Linked DNA regions of Homo sapiens: regions 1, 2, 3, 4 and 6 are each linked to region 5. Evidence: promoter capture Hi-C in 16 types of primary human blood cells and fetal thymus (Javierre and others, 2016). All regions are on one chromosome and are shown on one strand. Each heading gives the region's core, a stretch centred on a gene start or on the middle of the fragment in contact. The rest is flanking DNA. Distances are from core to core; before and after follow the strand shown.

Region 1 (2,909 bases), core at 290-2,789, 390 kb after region 5:
ACATAGGCATGGGCAAAGACTTCATGACTAAAACGCCAAAAGCAATGGCAAAAGTAGACTTTTTTTAGAGCAGTTTTAAGCTTACAGCAAAACTGAGTGGAATTATATACAAAGATTTCCCATATCCTCCCTGCCCTAAGACAAGCACAGCCTCTGCAGTCATCAATATCCCACACAAATGTATGATGACATGTATCCACCATTTGTGGTACCACACAGAACAGCTTCGCTGCCCTAGAATATCCTCCGTGCTGCATCTATTCACCCCTTCCCCCACTCCCAACCCGACTGACCTTTTTACTGTCTCCATAGTTTTGCCTTTTTTTCAGAATGTCATACAGTTTGAATCCAACAGTACATAGCCTCTTCAGATTGTCTTCTTTTATCTGCTCACATGCAGTTAAGGTTTCTCCATGTCTTTTCATGGCTTCATAGCTCATTTCTTTTTAGTGGTGAATAATATTGCATTGTCTGGATGTACCATAGTTTACTTACTCATCCACCTACTGAAGGACATCTGGTTGTTTCCAAGGCTTGGCAATTATGAATAAAGCTGCTATAAACATCTGGGTAGAGGTTTTTGTGTGAACATAAGTTTTCATTTCCATTTGGTAAATACTAAGGGGCATGATTGCTGGATCATATAGTTAGAATATGTTTTGTTTTATAAGAAAGTGCCAAACTGTCTTCCAAAATGACTACACCATTTTGCATTCCCACCAACAATGAATGAGAGTTCCCGTTACTCCACATCCTTGCTAGCATTTGGTGGTGTCAGAGTTCTATATTTTGACTATTTTAATAGGTATGTACTAGTATCTCATTTTTGTTTTAATTTGCATTTATCTGAGGACATATCATATAGAAATTCTTTTCATATATCTATATTACTTCTTTAGTAGGGTGTCTGTTAAGGTCTTTGGTCCATTTTTTAATTGGCTTATTTGCTTTCTTATTGTGGAGTTTTAAGAGTTTTTATATATTTTGGATAAGCTGCCTTATCAGATATGTCTTTTGCAAATATTTTATTTCAGTCAGTGGCTTGTCTTCTAAATTTCTTGACAGTGTCTTTCAAAGAAGAGAAAGTTTTAATTTTAATGAAATCCAGTTTATTCTTTCTTTCATGGATCATTCCTTTGGCATTGTATCCAAAAAGTAATTGTCAAACCCAAAGCCCAAAGTCATCTACATTTTCTTCTGTTATTTTCTATGAAATTTTTTTTTTTTTTGACATAGTCTCACTCTGTCACCCAGGCTGGAGTGCAGTGGCACGATCTCTGTTCACTGCAAGCTCCGCCTCCCAGGTTCACACCATTGTCCTGCCTCAGTCTCCCAAGTAGGTGGGACAACAGGCGCCCACCACCATGCCTGGCTAACTTTTTGTATTTTTAGTAGAGACGGGGTTTCACTGTGTTAGCCAGGTTGGTCTCAATCTCCTGACCTCGTGATCTGCCCGCCTCGGCCTCCCAAAGTGCTGGGATTACAGGCGTGAGCCACCATGCCCGGCTTCTATGAATTTTAAAGTTCTGCTTTTTACATCTGTGTCTAGATTCTTTTTTTTTCTTGCATGTGGATGTTCAGTTGTTTCAGCACCATTTGTTGAAAATAGTCTTTTCTTTATTATATTTCCTTTTCTTATTTGTCAAATATCAGGTGATGCTAGTCTGTTTTATTAATCTATTTGTCTACTGTTTGGCGAATACCGTACTGCCTTGATTACTGTAACATTCCAGTAAGCATTGAAGTTGAGTAGTGTCAGTTCTTCAACGTTATTTTCTTTCTGAGTATTTTGCCTTTCCATATAAACTTCAGAATCAGTTTGTTCATATCTACAAAATAATTTGCTAGGATTTTTATTTTGATGGCATTTAATTTATAGATCTAGTTGGGAAGAACCAATGTCTTGACAATATTGAGTCTTCCTATCCATGAACATGGAATATTTTTCCATTTTGTAGTGTCTTTATTTTATTCATCATAATTTTGTAGTTTTTCTTACATAGATCTTGTATATATTTTGTTCAATTTATACCTAAGTATTTTATTTTTGAGGAGATGCTAATATAAATGATAATGTGTTTTAATCTCAAATTCTTTCTTGTTTATTGCTGGTATATAGGAAAGCAATGGACTTTTGTATATTAATCTTGTATTCTGAAACCTTGCTATAATTGCTTGTTAGTTTCAGAAGGCTTTTTGTTCAGTTCTTTCAGATTTTCTTCATAGACTAACATATCATCTGCAAACAAAGACAGTTTTATTTTTTCTTTCCAATCTGTCTACCTTTTAATTCATTTTCTTGTCTGATTGCATCAGCTAGCACTTCCAGTTCAATGTTGAAAAGGGGTGATAAGAGGGAACATGTCTTTTATTTCACTTTATTTTATGCTTTAATTTGGGAAGGAGAGCTTTTTTTTCAGAAGGGTTTGCAGTCTGCAGGATGGCCATCCTGACAGGCCAGGAATCATAGCCTCTGGCCAGAAGCCAGAAATAGATACTTTGAGGGAGGGGAAGGTGGAACAGAAATTTACGCTGAATGAGGTGGCTAAATATACATACTCAATAAGCCATAGGAAAGTTCATGAATGTTTATAAAAGAAATATGCACATGCACAGTTGAGCTTTATGCCCATTCCTGGGTCCCCTGTACAAAAAACAGTGGTGTTAGCATAATCTGAAGGTGGACTTTTGAGTCCTCTGATGTCAAAAGGTGAACCAGAGGACACAAATACCTGTACTACCCATTCTCTGTGGACTGACCAGGAGCGCTTCATGGTCAGTGGTCTCTTATCCGGTGAAAAAGGAAGTACAGTGTCAGTTGCTTGGTCCATATCAGTGGTGGAGTCTTTTGAAAGGGCTGGTTTCTGTTAAGCCCTTAGGGAAGAAAGCCTAAGCCCGGTTAGGGAGGG
Region 2 (2,923 bases), core at 388-2,887, 370 kb after region 5:
GCCACTTGACACTTTGGATATCTCCTCTCAGGTATTCGGCTATAGCAGTAGTGGAGGAAAATTCTCCAAGAAATAAAAACTTTCAGGTGGGTGCGGTGGCTCACACTGGTAATCCCAGCACTTTGGGAGGCCGAGGTGGGCGGATCACTTGAGTCTAGGTGTTTAAGACCAGCCTGGGCAAGATAGCAAGACCTCGTCTTTATAAAATAGTTTTTTAAAAATTAGCCAGGCACGGTGGTTACACACCTGTGGTCCCAGGTACTCAGGAGGCTAAGGTGGGAGGATTCCTTGAGCCCAGGAGGATGAGGCTGCAGTGTGCAGAGAGCATGCCACTGCACTTCAGCATGAGTGACAAAGCAATACCCTGTCTCCAAAAAAGAAAAAAAAAAAATAAAGAAATAGAAACTTCCTTTCATCCGAATGCCCCTCCTTCTTTCCTAATGGAAAAATGGTTACCTATTCTTCAAAGCCTTCCTCAGATATTAAGCTTTACTATGAAACTATGAAGACTTGTGTTTATACACAATTATATGGCATTAATTATGCTCATCTAACCCTTTTTACTATGCCTGTATGGTCCTTATTACACCTAAACTGTTATCATTTTTTCTGTTTAACTCGGAGATACAAAGCCTAGAGAGATGAAGTAACTCACCCAAGGTCACAGGCAGTTGGGGCCCACAGTCTGAAAGCTTAGCCATTGTGCCATGTTGTCACTAGCTGGGAGCTCTCTGGGCAGCATTACTGATTTTCTCTTGCTTTCAACACAACTCTGTTATGTCGCACTTTCCCTATTATGTGAAGAGTTAATTATCTGATTTTCTTCTCTGGTTGAGAGTGAGCAAATTGAAGGTAGGAACTGTGTGTTACTTACTTTCATATTCCAGTGTTGGATGGATAACGGATGCAAAGTGAGTGAATGAATGACTAAAGAACATGAATGAATGAAGGGATGACTCAGAGAATAACTGAGAAAATAGAGTGGCAGGTGTGGGACGGGGCCTTCTGTTACCTTATGCAGACTGCACTTTTTCTAGGCCGAGGAGTCCCTGAGCTGCATTACAATTCAGGCCAGTGTAATTTCTGGCTTTACCATCACATAGTTTAAAATTTTCCATTAATCCTTTGGTGTGTTCTAATCAAATAATGCTGTTCTCAGTTAAACAGTTGAAGAAGCTCCCATTCTGGCAGGTATTATACTCTTTAACACAGTTGCTCTGTTGTCACCAAGGACACTTCTGCATCTGATATTGATTTAAATCTTCAGTTATGAAGGTCTTGAAGATGACTTTGTAGATAATGAAGATTGTATTGGCTCAAGAAACTGTAACAATGGAAAGAATATAGTGCATACTTGTTCATCCAATCTGAGAAACAGAGTAGCCTTATTGATAAGCAATTTACAAAGCATTTTGTTCTATGCTGATACAAAGTTGAAACATAGTGGGTGTTCTATTTGGTGTCAAGTGTTGAAAGTATTTTTGGAAAATTCATTATATTTTGGAGACAGTTCAAGTTGTGTTGAACTTTTACTCAAATAAAGATTTATATAGCTGTGCCTTGATTTTGAAAAATTTGTTTTATCAAAATCTGAATTGCAGAATAGATACATCAGAAACAAATGCCATTACAAAATAATCTCCAGGTAGCTCATCAAATACCTATGGAATGGGTACAATGAGTATAGGGAACCGGGTCACCATCTATCCTTCTTATTCTCTAGGGTCTGATCAATAAAGCAAACCAATGAAGCAAGATTGCTAGCCAGATAGAAAATGAAAAGAGTGATTTTGCTTTGTAGAGTCCTCTGTGCACATCCTTGTAAAATCTATATTAAAATATTTGCTTTAGGCTTCATCAAAAGTGAGACTATTGACTCTTACTCTTTATCTAGATGTGAGCACCACAAGCTCAGATGTGCATACAGAAGGAGTGAGGCACCAGATCTTCTGGGCCATCCCCAATACCGTGTGCTTGAATATGGATGAGGCTGGCAGGTTGGTTCCAGAAAGAAGACATTATAGGTGGAATGATGTTCCCTTAACCCCAGAAGATGTCCACATTCTAATTCCTAAAAGCTGTGGCTATTTTACCTCCGAAAGCAAAAGAGACTTTGCAGATGGGATTCTATTAAGAATCTTGAGATGGGGTTGATCAATGCCTTTGATTATCTAGGTGAGCCAATATAATCACAAGGGTCCTTACAAGAGGGAGGCAAGAGGGTCACAGAAGATGTGATGATGTAAGCAGAGGTCAAAGTGATCCACAGGCCAAGGAATTTGAGCAGCCTCCAGGAGACAGAACAGGCAAGAAACTAGAGTCTCTTGGCAGACAGCGTGGTTTTGGTCCATTGAGATTTCTGACCTATAGAACTCTAATGTAGTAAATTTGTGTTCTTTTGAGCTAGTAAGTGTGTGATTTCTTACAGCAGCAATAGGAAATTACTGTAGAAGGTTTGGGGACCTGCACAGATGTGCTTATTACAAGGGAACAAGATACAAAGGAGAACCTTCTGGGTGTCATCACAGAAAGTGAAGGACAAAGTAACCCTGTTCACCAGGAAAGCATGGTCCAGTTCATGTCAAGCTTCAACAGATGAAATCAACCACCTTCCTCTCCTGGGGAAGACGAGTGAGAGAAACAGAAGCTAATTAAGGTGTCTTAGTGGAGAGAAGTTTAACTCCAGGAATTAGAGGCTCACACAACCCTTGAAGGATGGGAAACGAAGCCTGATATGATCACTTTCAGGAAATCTAAAATGTGGGAATCGCAGAGAAACATGCTCCCTAAGTGAGTCACAGGAGGATGCCAAAGTCTATAGTCCAGACTCCACTTCTGTTGCCTGTCTGCAGACATTGTCAGAGAATGACCTTCACCTTCCAAATCTCATGTGAGACATTCTCAATGGTGGACTCTTCTAGTG
Region 3 (2,841 bases), core at 179-2,678, 270 kb after region 5:
TTCAAAATCAACTACAATGCAACATGCATTTTCTGAGGAATTCAAGAGATAGGGAGATTGGCACATTTAAACAGCAGCATTTTGAAGTCTGGTGTCAGACATGAAGAATCTTGGGTCAACTGTACTGTTATTCTGCTTCTTTGTGTTCTTGGTCAGTTGGATTCTTAACACACATACTCTCTATATAAAAACATATAAATATTATACATATATAAACATAAATATCATATATATATATATACAAAACCAGAATATATGTATATACAAAACCAGAATATATATATATACACAAAACCAGAATGAATATATATATATACAAACAAAAACCAGAATGATGACTAGGAAACAATAATTTTTGTTCATAAAATCTTCTATATGAGAGGCATGTTTTCATATGTCCTTGTACTCAATATCGGTGAGTTCTCCCAAAAATAGCCTGAGAACTGGCTTGAGCAAACCAAGAAAAGGATAAAACTCAACCTCTTCCTGCAAGTGGGTTATAAACCTAAATGTGAAAAGAAAAAATATTAAGTGAATGAATACATTGTACATATATTAGCACACTGAAATTCTAAAAATAAAAAGATGAACCAGAGGTTTTTTTGGGAAGAATCTTATAACCACAATATGGATCAAAAAAAGCAAGGCACAAAATAATGGGTACACTATATTTCTCACTGATATAAAATAAAAAACCAGGAGAAATCATACCTTAAAGGTGATAAAACTATAAAGAAAATGTAGAACTAGAATAGGACCACTGTAAGAATCAGGGTGGCAGTTTCCTGTAGAGTGAGAGGATTTCCACTAGAAAGACAATATTTTAAGCACATTTGTTATATATAATCATTCATGGCACTGCATATTTGAATGTTTTGCATTCTCCTGTATGTCTGTTATGTCCAAACAAAAATATTTTAAAAAATACACCCACCAGAAAGAGAATCCTGTTGGCATGATTTTAGATTCCAAAATAAAGCAGATAATTGACTTTTATTTTTTATTTTTTGAGATGCGGTCTTAGGCTGTCACCCAGACTGGAGTGCAGTGGTGCGATCTCGGCTCACTGCAACCTCTGCCTCCCGGGTTCAAGCGATTCTCCTGCCTCAGCCTCCTGAGTAGCTGGGATTACAGGCTAAACCACCACACCTGGGTAGTTTTTGTATTTTTAATAGAGATGGGGTTTCATCATGTTGGTCAGGCTGGTCTCAAACTCCTGACCTCAAGTGATCCGCCCGCCTTGGCCTCCCAAAGTGCTGGGATTACAGGTGTGAGACACCTCACCCAGCCCAAAGCAGAGATTTATTATCCAGCCCCTGTGCTTTGAATATAAAGCCAGTGTCATGCTAAGATCTTGAGCAGCCTCCCAGGTGTCATTGACAACCTGTATTTAATGTTAAATAATAGCAGAACTTATACAAATGAAGTACTTACTACGTCCCAGGTAATGTGCTAAGGGTCCAGCATACATTAGCTCATTTAATTCTCACATCAACCCTCACAGCTAAAGACAGTCAACCCTCCTTGGGTTCTGCATTAGTGGGTTCAACCAGCTGCTAATCAAAAATATTTGATAGAAGAAAAAAAGGATGGTTGCATCTGTATTGAACAAGTACAGACTTTTTCCCCCTCATCACTATTCCCTAAACAATACAATTTAACAACTATTTACATAGCATTTACATTGGATTAGGTATTATAAGCAATCTAGAGATGATTTAAATTATACAGGAGGATGAGCACAGGTTATATGCAAAAACAAAGCCATTTTATATCAGAGGCTTGAGCATCCACAGATTGTGGAGTCTTTGGGGTTACTGGAACCAATCCCCTGTGCATACCAAAGGGTGTGTCTACTATTATGGTTATTTTACAAAGAAGGGTAATGCATGTTGGTCAGGTAAGCACCTGCATACAGTGCTCAGATTGAGGAAGGAGCTGAGGTAGACTCTGACCCAGGTGGGTCTGCTGTCCAGTTGACTGCTGAGTTGCCATCCTATTTTACTCCTTTGTTAACCACTTAGACATCATCGCCAGTGGCAAAATCTTGAACAGACAACTATTATACAGAGGTTGGTTCGAAAAGCATGGCATTCATTCATTCTACAGTCATTCCTGTGCCAAGCTCTATGTTGGGTTTTGTGACTACAAAGAGGAAAATGACATCAGCCCTGCCCTCAGGGACCTGCTCCAGAACCAAGAGAGTCAGGTAAACAGACAAACAAAACCAGCAGCTTATGAGTGCACTACAGTGGCGTGGGGACAAACAAATCTGGAAGAAGAAAATAGATATCAGGCAAGAGAAGCTCAGTTTTAATCAGAGCCTTTTAACCAACCAGCCCATCTCTCTGTATTACTTACTCCTTCACTTGTCTCTGATTCCCTTAGAGTGATCTGTAGCCTATCACTTGCTTTTCCCTAACTGGACTCCACGTTTTTCCATTCCCAGTCTTGCCAGGTGTGATTCTTCTAAGTCCCCAACTACATCCCCACTCTTTTCTGTTCCCCTCTTCTTCCCACTTCCTCTCTCCACCCTTTTTGGCTACCTAAATCAAACCTATCCTTTACTACCTGTAACTCTCCGGATGCCCCTCACCAGAAGTGAGCACGACTTTTCCAACACTCTTCCGTGTTTCATTCATGCCGTGTTTGCAGCCTATAGTGCAATTGACCTTGTGTTACAATTATTTACATGAATGTTTTATCTTCCTTGCTAGAGTACAAGCTCCTTCAGCCCAGAAAACATGATTAATTTGCTTTGTGTTTGTCACAAAGGCCAAGAATTGTGCCTAGAGCAAACATCGCCTTGTTGAATGGTATTGGACACATAAACAGCTGAGA
Region 4 (2,723 bases), core at 57-2,556, 340 kb after region 5:
CTATTGCATGGGGGATTAAGTTTCAACATGAATTTTGGAGGGACACAAACATTCAGATCATAGCAGTACTTTTTGCCTCCCCTTGAGGAGTCCAGCTCCAGGCCAAAATCATCTGTATGCTCTCTTTTTTTTTGAGATGGAGTCTTGCTCTGTTGCCCAGGCTGGAGTGCAGTGGCTCCATCTCTGCTCACTGCAGGCTCTGCCTCCTGGGTTCATGCCATTCTCCTGCCTCAGCTTCCTGAGTAGCTGGGACTACAGGCGCCCACCACCACGCCCAGCTATTTTTTTTTTTGTTTTTAGTAGAGACGGGGTTTCACTGTGTTAGTGAGGATGGTCTCGATCTCCTGACCTTGTGATCTGCCCGCCTCGGCCTCCCAAAGTGCTGGGATTACAGGTGTGAGCCACCGCGCCTGGCCTCATCTGTATGATCTTTCATGTCTGACTATAGACATTTACAAAGGCTTTGCTGGCAGGCCTCATGGGGGAAGCTGCCCTTCCTTCCCAGACCTGGAGCACAGCCAGTGCAATGCAGTTTTCTGAAGGCGGTTGCAGTGAAAGACTCATGGCCCTTGGGTCTACCATGCTCATTTGCATATCTGCAAGTCTAGCCCAGGCACCTCCATTCAGAGACCTCCTTATGGGAGGGGAGGGCTTGACTCAGGCACTTTTCTCCACTCCTATTTCTTCCTGACCTCCTTCCTTCCCACCTGTGCTTTCATAAAAAGGCAGGAGCCTTTTGTTCAGGACTCCTTAGTGAGATGATTTTCCCCAGTTGGCACAGATCCTCCTGATGCTTGCCCAGAGCTCTTCTGTGGGGCCCTTTTTGCCTTTTGCCTGCACTGCTGCAGTAAGTGAACAAAGCCTTGATTGTCACTGTCAGTTTGGCTTGTTGTCCTAATTGGCCACCATCACACCTGGCTGTTCAGCACCCCCTCCTCAACTATACCCCAATTACTTGTGAACCTCTGCAGAGGTTCCCTCATGTAAGGTTCTCTCAGCTGCCTTGTGAAGCTCGTGGTTTCCTCTTCACTGGTTCTCTGGCCCCGGAGACTGAAAACTGGGAAGTTCCCTCCTAAATGGAGTTGCTGCTGGCACTGGTGCCATCTCCCAGGGATGGTGCTTCTCTGCTTAGCTGGTCTGCTGTATCAGATCCATCCTGTGGACAACAGGAGTATTGCTCGTGCTGCCACTTTTCAATGGTCTTCCTGGTCTGCTCTGTCTGCTGAGTTTTCTTAGGAGGAAGATTCTCTCCCCCATGAATCTACACACCATTATTGAGACTCACAGCACCGTTGCTTTGTTTGCTTAGTGACTAGGGGTTTTACGTAATGAGTCTCAGTTACACTAGGATAGTATTTTTCTCTCTCAAGGACCCTGACACAAAGTAACTGGGGTAAGAGAATCACCTGAGTGATAGACATTTATTGTTCTCAGAATGATTCCTTCCCTGCTTGTAGCCCAGCATCATTAAACTCCTCCTTTCTGGGAATGGGGTGAATGCTTGCGTAAGATCTTTCTTGGCCACTGGTGGTTGCTGCTGTTCATTGACTCCCTTGATCTCCATTCCATTCCCCTAAAAGGAGAAGTTGGAAAAGCTCAAACTCCATTTCCCAAGGCTCCTTTATCTAAGGTTCTAGATTCCAGGCAAGACTCACCAGCCAGACACACGAATTTGATGGCAGAAGTGAGGCAAGACCCCGGTGGCTCACGCCTGTAATCCCAGCACTTTGGGAGGCCGAGGCGGGTGGATCATGAGGTCAGCATATCGAGACCATCCTGGCTAACACAGTGAAACCCCGTCTCTACTAAAAATACAAAAAATTAGCTGGGCGTGGTGGCCGGTGCCTGTAGTCCCAGCTACTCAGGAGGCTGAGGCAGGAGAATGGGGCGAATCCGGGAGGTGGAACTTGCAGTGAGCCGAGATCATGCCGCTGCACTCCAGCCTGGGCAACAGAGCGAGACTCCCTCCATCTCAGAAAAAAAAAAAAAAGAAGTGAGGCAAGACCCATCTTCCTGCCAGCTTTGGCTGATTGTGCTGGCAAGGAAGACTGCATGAATTACAGTTGCTCTGCACTGGTAATCTCCTGCCTTCTGGAGGTCCAGGAGCACCTGCAGCAGCTAAGCAAATGTGTAGCATGATCAGAGGTGTAGCACGATCAGAGCTCCAGAGGCAGCCTTGAAAGCTGTGGCTGGCCTAGGAGTTCAGCTCTGTGTTTTTGGCATGTCGTTTCTGGAGACTCAGGTCAGAACATTTTCCTCTAGATCCTGCAATGATTTTGTGAGCACCCAATTCCTGACAGTATATTACTGCTTTCATAAAATACCTAGAGTCCTTTTTGTTTGTTGTGCGGATTTTGACAGATACGTTGCTCTTATCAATAGACCTCTGGGATGCAAGTTTAAACTCAAGCTAGAAAGATACCCTGTCTCACCTCAACCCACCCATACCACATGTCTAACTATTTCTCCTTTGAAATACATTTTTTTCCTGCCCAGCCATGAACAGCACATGTCTTCTGATGGTTTTTTAAGAAGAAGATAAGTCATTTAAAAGTTCAGAAATAGTTGCTGGAGAACAGTTGCAGTTACTGTACACTTCTCCTTTCATCATTTTAATGGGAACTTCCTGGAGGGCGTTTTGCCTTGCATTTCTCATTTGCTATGGTCTTTTACACACAAATCTGAGGATTAATTCAAGATGGCCCCCTTTTTTTTTTTAAGCA
Region 5 (2,914 bases), core at 233-2,732:
GTGGGGGACGTGGGGGAAAACTCCCTTGCCCGTTGCACCATGTGGAGACACAGCCAGGAGGTACTGTCTGTGCAGAAGGGACCCTCATCAGACCTGGAATCTGCCAGTGGGCTTCCCAGCCTCCAGAACTGGGAGAAACAAATTCCTGTTGCTTATAAGCCACCCAGCCTATGTTGTTTTGTTACAGCAGCCCGAGGGGACTAAGACGGGTACTGTGTCCTAGATTAGCTCATTTAATATTCACTATGATCTATGAAGCAGGCACTACTCTTCATCATTCATGAACGATTATTTCCCGCTGAGAAAACTGAGGCACAGAGCAGTCAGTCGCCTAACTCACGGCCCCTGTGAGAGGGTCGCCAAGATTCTGGAATCCGGGCAGTCTGGCTCCAGAGTCCGTGCTCTTAGTGTCCAGCTATACACTTGAAGAAGTGAAAACTGCAGCTCTTTTCGGACAGTGATCCCCTCGAAAAACAAACAAAAAACTGAAGCCCAGCGGCTGGAGCAAGGGGCCTGGAAAGGCGTTGAGCGAGGGCCGGGGCGCGAGGGCTCCGGGGCGGGCCGGCGGGGACTGCCTCTCCCGCTGGTCACCTGGGGTTGAACTGGAATTGTTCAATAGAGGCCTCGAGGCCCTCCATGATCTTCCGGCCCTCCTCTGTCTCAGGCGAGTCGCCCCAGTTCGCCATTGCAGCCCCGGACGTGCGCCTCCCGCGGAGCCGCTCGCTCTCCTGAGTCGGAGTCGGGAACCCGGCGTCCGTTGCCATGGCGACTCCCAGGTAACCGGCGAAGCGCGGGAATCCGTGGGCGGGGGCCGGGGAGGGCCGCGAGTGGAGGGGGGTGGGGAACGGGGTGGGGAGGGGAAGGGGGAAGGAGATGGGGAGGAGGGGGATAGGGAGAAGGTTGGGGATGGGGGGGAAGGGGAGAGGGAAAGGAAGTAGAGGAGGTGTGGAGGGAAGGAAGAGGGGGAAGGAGTGGGGGAAGGGGGAAGAGATGGAAAGGAGGATGGGGAGGGAGCACGCGCGGGAGGAGGGGAGTGGAGAGGGGGAGGAGGAGGCGGGGCGGGCTCCCAAGCCACCCCGCTGCGCTTTCACTGTCCCGCCTGCCTCAAGGCTTCCCCACAAGACTCCCACAGCCTGGAGGCTGCTGCGATACCCCAGAGGAAAGCTGCACCCCCGTAAATAACCCTTCAGCCTCCCGCCGTGCCCCTGGACCCTGCTCGCTTCCTCCTCTACCCAGGCGCGGAGCTCAGCCTACCTCGTGGACCCGCGCATTTGCGGGGGCTTGAATTCCCGAGCTTCTCGCTTCCTACGCGCGCAGCAGACCCGCAGCTCGGTGGCCTTGGCTTTCATGGCCTCCCAGCGTGTGCCAAAGGTCCCCCTCAAGGAGGAGGAAAAGCAGTGAACCCATCTAATAACTATGCTCATGACATAATGAGCCCTGCGATCCCGGACCAAGGCCATCATAAGAGGAGAGCAGGCTGCCTAATAAGCTGTCTCCACCTGCCACAAACGTAGGCGTTCCTGGACAAAATATTTCCTTGCAGAGATTAAACAGATTTCTATTTAATGAGGTCAGAATGTGAGGCGTTAAGTCTTAAACTATACCATCTAGTGTGGAATTCAATTTTACCAGGTTTCTACAATAATAAGAGTTAATAGTGAAACTGTTGTCATCCTTAGTTTTAAATTATGTATCACTCATTGTCAACTAATAGGAGACACCTATTCTAATATCAGTATGTCATTGTTTTTCTGTAAACGACTGGCTAAATTTATTTTTAAAATGTCATTGTCTGGTTTAGAACTGTCTATACTACATCTGCATTTCAATATATTATCTACAGAAAAATAAGTTTTTTCTCCTCTCTCTTATTATTATTATTATTATTTTTTGGAGCCGGAGTCTCGCTCTGTCGCCCAGGCTGGGGTGCAGTGGCGCGATCTGGGCTCACTGCAACCTCCGCCTCCCGGGTTCAAGCAATTCTCCTGCTTCAGCCTCCCGAGCAGCTGGGACTACAGGCACACAGCACCAAGCCAGGCTAATTTTTTGTATTTTTAGTAGAGACGGGGTTTCACCGCGTTGTGCAGGCTAGTCTAACTCCTGAGCTCAGGCAATCTGCCCCCCTCGGCCTCCCAAAGTGCTAGATAACAGGCGTGAGCCACAGAGCCCGGCCTCTTCTCTGTCTTGTAACAGTAAGTGAAAATAACTTAGCTGGATTTAGAAGCTCAAAACAGGAAAAGAAAAGCACTGTAGCATTATCACTACTATTATGTTTAAAGACAAAGATTAAAAGCCCCAAATGCCAATAAAACATCATAACCAATGCCAAAATCATCTTCTGTGAAGGCTTATTTTTTGGGGGGGAGATGAAGAGAGAAGAGAAAAAGAGTTACTTTTACTCTTTGGAGGTTTTTAATTACAAACTCTAACTTCAGACTTTATTTGGGGAATTTTTATTATATAATCAAAAGGTATTTTAAAAGAAAGAAATTTATATATCTACAATAACTTTTCTTTTTCCTAAGTGATATTTTACCACAATGTATATACATGTTTTAAAATAAAGATTAAAATTTTAAGTTAAAATTTCAAAACCTATCTGTTTAGAGCTGGGCCAAGACAGTGTAAAGAATGTGACAAGCTGTTGGCTATTTTCCTAGTGCAATTATAAATGAATCGTTTGAAACTGAGGAGAGAGATCGCACAGAAGATTTCATGAGTCATTGGTCAGCTCTGTACAGCATTTGTTGACTGATATAGTCTGCATAGTTACGCCATCCCACAAAAACATGCATTGAACAGAACATCTTTGTTTGAAACCTTGCTATAGCATATCAAGGAGTTTCAGATTTCAGTGTCTAAGAGACCACGCTATGATGATGATTGTTTTTGAAACCGTTAACTACATAATACT
Region 6 (2,933 bases), core at 281-2,780, 290 kb after region 5:
AGTATTCCATTTGTGTATATATACCACATTTTAAAAATTTATTCTTCTTTTGATGAACACTCAGGTTGGTTTCATATCTTGGCCATTGTGGATAAACATGGGGGTTTACTGCAATAAACATGGGAATGCTGATGTCTCTTCAACACACTGATTTTATTTCCTTTGGATATATACATATAGAGTAGAAACATTGCTGAATCACAGTAATGAGTTCTATTTTTAATTTTTTAAGGATTTCGATCTTGCTTTCCCTAATGACTGTACTAATTTATATTCCCACCAATAGTGTGTAAGAGTTCCCTTTTGTCCAAGAACTAGATTATTTTAAGATAATATGTTAATTATAATCCCCAGAGTAATCACTAAGAAAATAACTGAAAACATATAGTAAAATAAACAACAAGCAATTAAAATGTCATACTAGAAAATGTAAATGTAAAACAAAAGAAGACAGTAATGGAGGTACAAAAGAAGAAAAAATATATTAAAAATGTAGAGTAAAAAGGCAAAAGAGCAGACAAATTCTACATTATCAATAATTACACTGACAATAAATGAAACACTTCAATCAAAAGGCAGATATTGGCAGAATGGATTTAAAACATATAATCCAAGGATATGCTGTCTACAAGGAAAAATGACTTATATTAAAAGAAACAAATAGTTTAAAGGTAAAAGGAGGAAAAAAGCTATGCTATGCAAACAGTAACCCAAAGAGAGCTACAGTAGCTCTACTAACATAGACAAATTGTTGCTAGAGACAAAGATGGACAGTTTATAATGCATAAAGGAGTCAATTCATCAGGAAGATACAAGAATTGAAAACATACATGTATCTAACAACAGCGCACAAGATGCATTAAACAAAAACTGAGAGCATTGAAGGGAGAAACATAATATAAAAATAACAGTTGGGGACCCCACTTTTAATAATGAACAGAACAACACGGCAGTGGGTTAAGAAGGAAATAGAAGCTTGAACAACACTGTAAGCCAAGTAGATATGGCAGACATCTATAGAATACTCCACCCCAAATCATCAAAATATACATTCTTTTCAAATGCAGATGGAACATTCTCCAGGATAAACAATACGTCAGGACATAAGACATACCTCAGTAAACTTGAAAGGCATAAAATCGTACGAAGTATGTTCTCTGACTTTGAGGAAATGAAATCAGAAATCAATAACAGAAGAAATTGAAATCAGAGGAAAATTCAAAAAATTGACAAATAAGTGGAAATTTAATAAGTAGAAGTAATGGTAGGCTTGATACTGGGTACAGTGTACACTGCTCAAGTGATGGGTGAACCAAAATGTCAGAAATCACCACTAAATAATTTATCCATGTAACCAAAAACCACCTGTACCTCAAAAACTATGGAAATAAAATGAAAGAAGTAGTGGTAGGTTGGGGTTGTTCTATGACTTCCTCAACTAAATGACAGGGATCATTAGGGTATTATCATCCCCTCCTCTCCCCTCCCTTCTCCTCCCCTCTCCTCTCCTCTCTCCTCTCCAACACAGTCACTTTCTTTCACCCAGGCTGGAGTGCAGTGGCACCATCTCACCTCACTGCAACCCCTGCCTCTAGGGTTCAAGTGATTCTCCTGCCTCAGCCTCCTGAGTAGCTGGGACTACAGGTGCGCACCACCACACTTGGCTAATTTTTGTATTTTTAGTAGAGATGGGGTTTCACCATGTTGGCCAGGCTGGTCTCAAACTCCTGACCTCAAGTGATCTGCCCACCTTGACATCCCAAAGTGCTGGGATTACAGGCATGAGCCACCACACCCAGCCTATTATCATTCAGTTCTAAATATTTACACATTTTAGTATGCTTATTTGAGTTATGAGTTGTGTTGAATTGGGATTTTTCTAATTTCTAGTTTTGCTATCTTTTTGCTATTTATTCTAAATTACATTTTGGTCAGAGAATGTGGTCTGTGTGATATGTATTCTCTGAAATGTGTTGAAAATTTATGTCCCAGTATGTGATTGGTGCTTATTAATTAATGTTTTTTTCTTTGCTTGAAATTAACATGTATTATCCAATTAGTGCTGGCAACACTTTGTTCATTAAATCAAGCTTGTTAATTGTATTGCTTTAATATTTTATCATTTCTGGGTTTTTTCTTTGCCAGATCCATAAATGACAGACAGAGATTTAAAATGTGTCACTACAAGGGTGGATCTGTCAATTTATACTTAGAGTTCTGTCAATTTTCTCTTTATTTTGGGGTTCTGTTATGCTGAATTTAATCATTTCTTCCCCATATTTAGTAAGGGACTTTATAAAACTCTAGTAATGTTTTCTACATTAAACACTTTTTTCCTTTTTATATGAATGTAGTAATTATATCCACTTCCCCCCCAGCTCTATTTTAGAGTAGTATAATTTCAAGCTTACAAAAAAGTTTTATAAGGAATACAAATGCTCTAATGTCTCCTTCACCCAGATCCCCAAATTGTCAGGATTTTACCACATTTGATTTTCCCCCCTCCAACCTCAGTGGGGCAACTTCCTTAAAGACAAGGAAGAAATAGAAGAAGAGAGGAAGGAAAGGGAAGGAGAAAGAAAGAAATGAATACCAGTTTTTCTTTAGTTATTTGCCTGGTATACAATTTCCCTTTTAAAAAATTTTAGTGACTCCTTTTTATAATGTTCTTACACACATAATATCACTGGATTTTTGTTAATCTAGCCCAATAATCTCTGTGTCTAAGTGTAGAGTGCAGTCCACTTTTATTATAACTTTTGATATATTTGGGCGTATACCTGCCATCTTGTTTTGTGTTTTCTATTTGTAAAAGAACTCTTGGTTTTTCCTTTTTCTCTCTTGCCTTTCTTTGCATTACTACTGTGGAAATAAAATGTTCTACTTATTATGGTTACTCTAGAAATATACTATATTTAATAAAGTCTAAAATT

What was found. Contacts are between HindIII fragments. The CHiCAGO score rates a contact against its expected background, and 5 or more counts as called.
Region 1: a fragment that was not itself captured here is called in contact with the fragment with the promoter of C10orf67 in region 5 in 1 of 17 cell types (monocytes); the score reaches 5.0 in monocytes.
Region 2: a fragment that was not itself captured here is called in contact with the fragment with the promoter of C10orf67 in region 5 in 2 of 17 cell types (monocytes and M0 macrophages); the score reaches 9.0 in monocytes.
Region 3: a contact is called between a fragment that was not itself captured here and the fragment with the promoter of C10orf67 in region 5, in 1 of 17 cell types (monocytes). The highest score is 5.7, in monocytes.
Region 4: a fragment that was not itself captured here is called in contact with the fragment with the promoter of C10orf67 in region 5 in 2 of 17 cell types (monocytes and M1 macrophages); the score reaches 7.8 in monocytes.
Region 6: a contact is called between a fragment that was not itself captured here and the fragment with the promoter of C10orf67 in region 5, in 3 of 17 cell types (monocytes, M1 macrophages and M0 macrophages). The highest score is 9.0, in monocytes.

The regions. Positions count from the first base shown.
Region 1 is chr10:23,728,693-23,731,601 of GRCh38, forward strand. It overlaps a transcript of KIAA1217 not described here. Among named protein-coding and RNA genes, the nearest start is that of OTUD1, 290 kb to the left of the region's middle. The HindIII fragment of the contact is 2,922 bases long and covers 79-2,909 here.
Region 2 is chr10:23,709,158-23,712,080 of GRCh38, forward strand. It overlaps a transcript of KIAA1217 not described here. Among named protein-coding and RNA genes, the nearest start is that of OTUD1, 270 kb to the left of the region's middle. The HindIII fragment of the contact is 1,894 bases long and covers 691-2,584 here.
Region 3 is chr10:23,616,933-23,619,773 of GRCh38, forward strand. No RefSeq gene overlaps it. Among named protein-coding and RNA genes, the nearest start is that of OTUD1, 180 kb to the left of the region's middle. The HindIII fragment of the contact is 6,427 bases long and covers 1-2,841 here.
Region 4 is chr10:23,685,766-23,688,488 of GRCh38, forward strand. No RefSeq gene overlaps it. Among named protein-coding and RNA genes, the nearest start is that of OTUD1, 250 kb to the left of the region's middle. The HindIII fragment of the contact is 4,451 bases long and covers 1-2,723 here.
Region 5 is chr10:23,343,315-23,346,228 of GRCh38, forward strand. It overlaps C10orf67 (chromosome 10 open reading frame 67), which reads right to left and starts at 1,483. Exons shown (of 16, transcript NM_001371909.1): 1 at 1,255-1,483. The coding sequence starts at 1,460. It overlaps C10orf67-AS1 (C10orf67 antisense RNA 1), which reads left to right and starts at 643. Exons shown (of 2, transcript NR_155752.1): 1 at 643-776; 2 at 1,110-1,847. RefSeq lists a silencer at 2,606-2,900. The HindIII fragment of the contact is 9,174 bases long and covers 1-2,914 here.
Region 6 is chr10:23,633,716-23,636,648 of GRCh38, forward strand. No RefSeq gene overlaps it. Among named protein-coding and RNA genes, the nearest start is that of OTUD1, 200 kb to the left of the region's middle. The HindIII fragment of the contact is 1,115 bases long and covers 974-2,088 here.